Regions from separate parts of the Homo sapiens genome. Here region 1 is linked to region 2. The links are contacts of gene promoters, found by promoter capture Hi-C in human tissues and cell types (Jung and others, 2019). All regions are on one chromosome and are shown on one strand. The core of a region is centred on a gene start or on the middle of the fragment in contact, and the rest is flanking DNA. Distances in the headings are between cores, read along the strand shown. Region 1 overlaps APPL1 (adaptor protein, phosphotyrosine interacting with PH domain and leucine zipper 1). Region 2 holds the start of ASB14 (ankyrin repeat and SOCS box containing 14).

Region 1 (2,700 bases), core at 180-2,679, 49 kb after region 2:
TGACTCACAAATTTTATCTCCTCCCTCTCACCTTCCCAAGTGACAGAGTAAACACATCTCCAGCTGGGTTCTTTATGTGTGTTTATGTGCTAAAAATGTACAAAACTGAAGATAGTTTTGTACACAAAACCTGTTCTTCTGCTTTGTTTCTTACCTTTCTTAATTACTACAGGATCCATCCAGACATCCAAGAAATCTAGGACTCATTTTTTATTCCTCCTATTACCACAAGTCTTGTCAATTCTACTTAAAAAAATATCTCCCAAAAGTACTCCTTCCTCTCCATTTTCAGTAACAACCTTAGCTGAGGCCTTCATTGTATCTCTGCAAACTATTCCAATTCCTTTCACTGGATATCCTCTAGTCTTGTCCTCTTCACATTTTCATTAGTATGTTTGTTCTATAACACAATTGCATGATGTTATTCACCTACTTAGAATCCTTTGGCGGCTGTCCACTCCCTCTAACACAAATTTCAAGGTCATTAATATAGTAATCTGGTACTAATATACTTCTTACTCTTTCTGCCATATCTCCTAACATTTCCTTTATTGTCACAGAGTACTCTTAATCTTTACACTCTCCCAACTCCACCATGTGCCTCTGAAAGGCTGTTTTTCTTTCAGGAAAGCACTCTCTCCGATTCCAAACTGGTGTTATCCACTTATCTTTAATGTAAATGTCACCTTCTAAAAGTGTAACCTTTGCTGGCCATGTGTGGTGGCTCAAGCCTGTAATCCCAGCACTTTGGGAGGCCGAGGCAGGCAGATCACCTGAAGTCAGGAGTTCGAGACCAGCCTGGCCAACATGGTGAAACCCCACCTCTACTAAAAATACAAAAATTAGCTGAGCATAGTGGCTAACACCTGTAATCCCAGTTACTGGGGAGGCTGAAACAGGAGGATCACTTGAACCCAGGAGGCGGAGGTTGCAGTGAGCCGAGACGGAGCCACTGCACTCCTGCCTGGGAGACAGAATGAGGCCCTGTCTCAAAAAAAAAAAAAAAGTGTAACCTTTCCCAATTCACCAATCAAAGTGAACTGCTGCCCTCTCTGTGCTCTCTCAGCATTTTATTAAAACCCCTATTATTGTATTTAACTAATAACAGAGTTAATTCATGCCTTCTTGTCATCCTTGTACTCTGGTTCCTAGTCCACCTGCATGCCTTCACACAGGTAGCCTTCAATAAATGTGGAGTATCCAGTCTTTGAGGGCAGGAGTGAAGCCTATTCATGTTGTTCCCCCAAGGTACCCAACAGACTGCTTGACGTATATTAGGTGCTCAATGAATTTTTAAATAAAATGAAGTTGGTGACAGAGTGTTTTTTAAAATACTTTGAGCAGCCAGAAGTAATGTAAAATATATCAAATTTTATACCCAGAGCCTTTAACTACTTCTCTAAGGCCAAGTGACTAATAGAGATCTCAAATGTATACATTTTATCAATACACCATTAAGTAGTAGTCTGCAGCTAAAATTAGAAACGAAAAGGAAATCAATCTTTGTACTAAACTTTGTGTGAGAAACATTTCCTTTGTCACAGTAGCTGTTGCACAGTAAATCCTACCCAACTGTGGATTCCCACAAGCAGTCACTGTGTTTCCACCAGCAGCTGCAGCCAAGGCTGCAGACACCAACACCCAGGCACAGAGATCACCTCAGTCACAAGCATCTAGAAAGACCTACACATCAAGCCTTGGACTAGATGCTGGAGAAAGACATGATCTTAAGGCACGCCCAAAAAAACCTGTTAATACTCTGTACTCTCATCTTTACTTGAATGCATTTCTCCTCAAATATAGTGTAATATTTCTGTATTTCACTCCTTGAACAAATATCAAAAGATATATATGTCTATAAATAAGGAGGGCCTCATAACAGAATTTCATTATGTGTGTGACCACTCTATCTCAGAAGACATTTTTGAACACACCTATATATTCAAACAGAACCAATGCCATGTCATCAAAATACAAAGCAACAAAAGGCAATGTTATATACTGGGCATCAGTTAAATTTCCAGAATAGTTATATTTACTTATAACATCAAATTTTGGCAGAAGAAAATATTTTGTTTAAAGAGGTCAATGATTATCAGAAAGGTTTTGAACAGCTAGAAGGAAAGAATAAACTAATAGTAATATAACAAAACATACAAAGTAACTGCTGGCTCTATTTTGATAGAGGAAAAACTAAACCACCTAATGAATAGTTAATTATGACACTGAAGGAATAAATATGTACCACACCTTGTCATTTTCTCTTTTTTTTGATAAACGGCTATATCTATTAATCGCAGCATCATGATCTGGAAAAAAGAAATGAGTGTTAACAATACAACAGTACTTTTCAAAACTTACAAATGCTTTCAATGGTCTTCACATGTGCACCTTTCCACAAACGTACTAAAGCAAGAATTTCCTACCACATGACCACTGCACTCAATTTTCCCCACAGCCAAATTTCCCCTAAATTATGTGTCTACTTCTCAAATTGGTTTTTAAAAAATTAATTCCAAGGAAACTAATGCACTAAAGCTTTTTAAAGTATTTTCTAGTACAAAAATAGCAAACGCAGCTTAGACACAGTGGCATATGCCAATAGTCCCAGCTACTCAGGAGGATGGGGCAGCAGGATCACTACAGTATGCTATGATTGTGGCTTGAAAAGCCACTGCACTCCAACCTGGGCAACAGAGC
Region 2 (2,700 bases), core at 191-2,690:
GTAAAAAAATATATATGCTGTAAAACCTTCATATATCACAATTATGATCTTAGATTTAGTTCTGGCCATTTTATTACAAGATAAATAGTTCTTTTCGTACCAATGGCTGTTTTTCCCTTTATCAAGTGAATATATTTCTTTTTTTTTTTCAAGCTCAAAAATCTCGGATTATAAAGTCGGATGCCTATGTCTGTCCCCTCTACAAGACAAGTGAACGTAAAGGAACTCTTTCCACTACGGGACATTCTACTAACTTTGTCATTGCAATGTTGTTAAAAACAGACCAACCTACTCGGCACTGGATCAAGCGCGGGGTTGCTTTGCTTTGTCAGTTGGATGACTAAATTGGACAAATTTATAAAACATCCAAAAGTTTAAAAAAAAAAAAACCTGTCCTACTTAAAATATATACATTATAAAACCAAGTGTTTTGGTGTTATTCTTTTAAATGATCTTTGCAAACACTCATTGCATTGTTCTCCTTTCTGAGGAGAACTTTTTGAAGTTTGATTGTATGTGAAAAATAGATTTGGGGGTTAAACGGTAACATTTAACAAATATCAGGAATTATCTCCTTCACAAATGTTAAGTCATTCCTTCAGCTTCAGTATAGTTTACTTTCCACTCTCCTACCTAAAGTAATTATACATAAATATTTCAAATACATAAATTAAGAAATTATAAATATGGAAAATATTAAAAGTTACCCAACTATACCTCTTTATTTCTTACCTCTAAGACATCGGTTCCATTTCTCACTGCATCCTTGTGACTAGGAAAGGAAACTCAAAGCTGCGAAGTTGGCCTGCAAAGGCAGTAGGATGGCTTGAGGGCAGTCCGAACTTCTACACCTGCAGTGACAGTGTGCTTCTCGGCATTTGCTTCATATTTAATTTGAAATGTCAAGTGGTCCCTTTGCTTTTTTTAGTGTATATTAACAATTTAAAAATATTTCAACAAAACAGAATTTTGATCAAAATTTTATCTTGTGTAGAGTGAATTCTTCCCTTAGGATTCCAAGGACACTGAAGGCCACAGTTCTGTAACCCAAGGAAAATGTAGTCACAGCTACCTAGTGAATCTAGTACATTGGGACAGTCACTTTGGATAATTGGGTCAGAGCAAAATGTTTGGGTTCTCTTAAGTGAAAAATTGATTGTGGTTTGCAGTGGCTATGTGCATGAATTCTCTTTGCATGGCCAACCCCCTGCAAAAGCATTTTATTCCAGGAATAAAATATTTAATCCTTTAAATTTGATGAATGTAGCACTGAAGAAAAGAGATCATGTTTCCAAAAAGAGCTAAACCACATGTAAAAAACAAGGAGAATGTGCCAAACTGTCTTATGATGAAGTATTTATAGTAAAGCTATTAATGGAATGGTCACTACAGGGGAGAGGAGAGCCTAAATATAAATGAAAATTCTGAGGCTTACATGTGTTAGTCCTTAACAGTGAAAACTTCACTGCTGTCCTAGAGGATAAAACAAAAGGTAAAAAGTCTTTGAAATGTGACCAAATGTATTCTATGCTAAAACTGACATTTTTCTTTTAAAACCATTTAGATATTGCCTAGTAAGATACATTTGTTTTTACTACTGCTGTATCCATGTTGTAATTATGAGAATACATTTGTTCCTATAACATGTTTATTTTTAATGTATATTAAGTAAAATATTATTTTCAGCATCACACTGTGTGTAGGAAAGATATTATTTTGGATGAGTGCTACAATCACTGTGAAAGACTCACAGCCAAGTTGAACAGATCAGAGTGTTGTCAGTGTTAGAGTGGCACTAACCGAAGTCTTATTTGAAAGGTGGTTTTTCCTGAATAAGCTTTAAGTCAATGGCTACTCATGGAAACTTCTAATTTTTGTTGAATCTGTGGCAGTCCACAAAACTTTTTTAAGTTTATAGAAATTTTTTAGTGAATATTTTGTTTCCTAAATTTTGTATATTTTTCATTGTTAATCCTACCAATTTTCTAGATTTCTGAATTTCATTTGTAATTTTAAGCAGTTGATCTCTTCACAACTGGAAAAATACTTTTAATTCACTCTGACTTTAAAGTAAACCTGTCCACGTTTCACATGGATAATTACACCAGCGATGAAGACATAGATGAAGACTTTGACACCCAGCTCATCATTCAACAGAGTTTGCAGGATATTTATAAGCCAGGAACAGCACAACATGCACCTAAGGATGAGAGGTAATGGTTTTCTCATCGGCAATATAGTATTAAGTGTTGTATTCAACAGCTGACACTTGTCATTAGCTTAACTCTAGTGTTGTGACAAAAACAGGAGGGTCAGAATCCAAGGAGCTGTCAATTAAATATCTGTAAGATATTATGCCTAACTAGACAGGAATAATCTGGAAATAATTCAGAATTTAATTAGGCAATAAAAATATCTGAAGGAGGTTAGCAGCAAATCTGGGTGAGGTGATACAGACTGGAAATCAGAAGAAAGAAAGGAGGATATGAAGGGCTAGAGAAAAACTAATACATCTTGTCTTTGGGAATTGAAGAAATGCATAAATCCAACCGGGACACATAGAAAGTTAGTTATCTTCAACCTTAGTAGGGTAGGTGGGGATGGGGTCCAGTCTTTGATCTACTCAAATCAAAAGGAGGAATTACATAAACTTGAACAAGGCTTCTGAAAGTGTAGATTCAGAGTTTTGTTGGACAACAC

Evidence for each region. Contacts are between HindIII fragments. The study calls those that stand out against the background at their distance.
Region 1: a contact is called between a fragment that was not itself captured here and the fragment with the promoter of ASB14 in region 2, in 3 of the 25 tissues and cell types used here (heart left ventricle, mesendoderm cells and thymus).

Annotation. Positions count from the first base shown.
Region 1 is chr3:57,242,465-57,245,164 of GRCh38, reverse strand. It overlaps APPL1 (adaptor protein, phosphotyrosine interacting with PH domain and leucine zipper 1), which reads right to left. Exons shown (of 22, transcript NM_012096.3): 7 at 2,251-2,309. Among named protein-coding and RNA genes, the nearest start is that of APPL1, 16 kb to the right of the region's middle. The HindIII fragment of the contact is 4,279 bases long and covers 1-2,700 here.
Region 2 is chr3:57,291,425-57,294,124 of GRCh38, reverse strand. It overlaps ASB14 (ankyrin repeat and SOCS box containing 14), which reads left to right and starts at 1,440. Exons shown (of 11, transcript NM_001142733.3): 1 at 1,440-1,492; 2 at 2,021-2,213. The coding sequence starts at 2,092. DNAH12 (dynein axonemal heavy chain 12) reads left to right here. Exons shown (of 74, transcript NM_001366028.2): 74 at 154-425. The coding sequence ends at 344. It overlaps LOC124909384 (a long non-coding RNA gene), which reads right to left and starts at 1,334. Exons shown (of 2, transcript XR_007095923.1): 1 at 733-1,334. The HindIII fragment of the contact is 9,422 bases long and covers 1-2,700 here.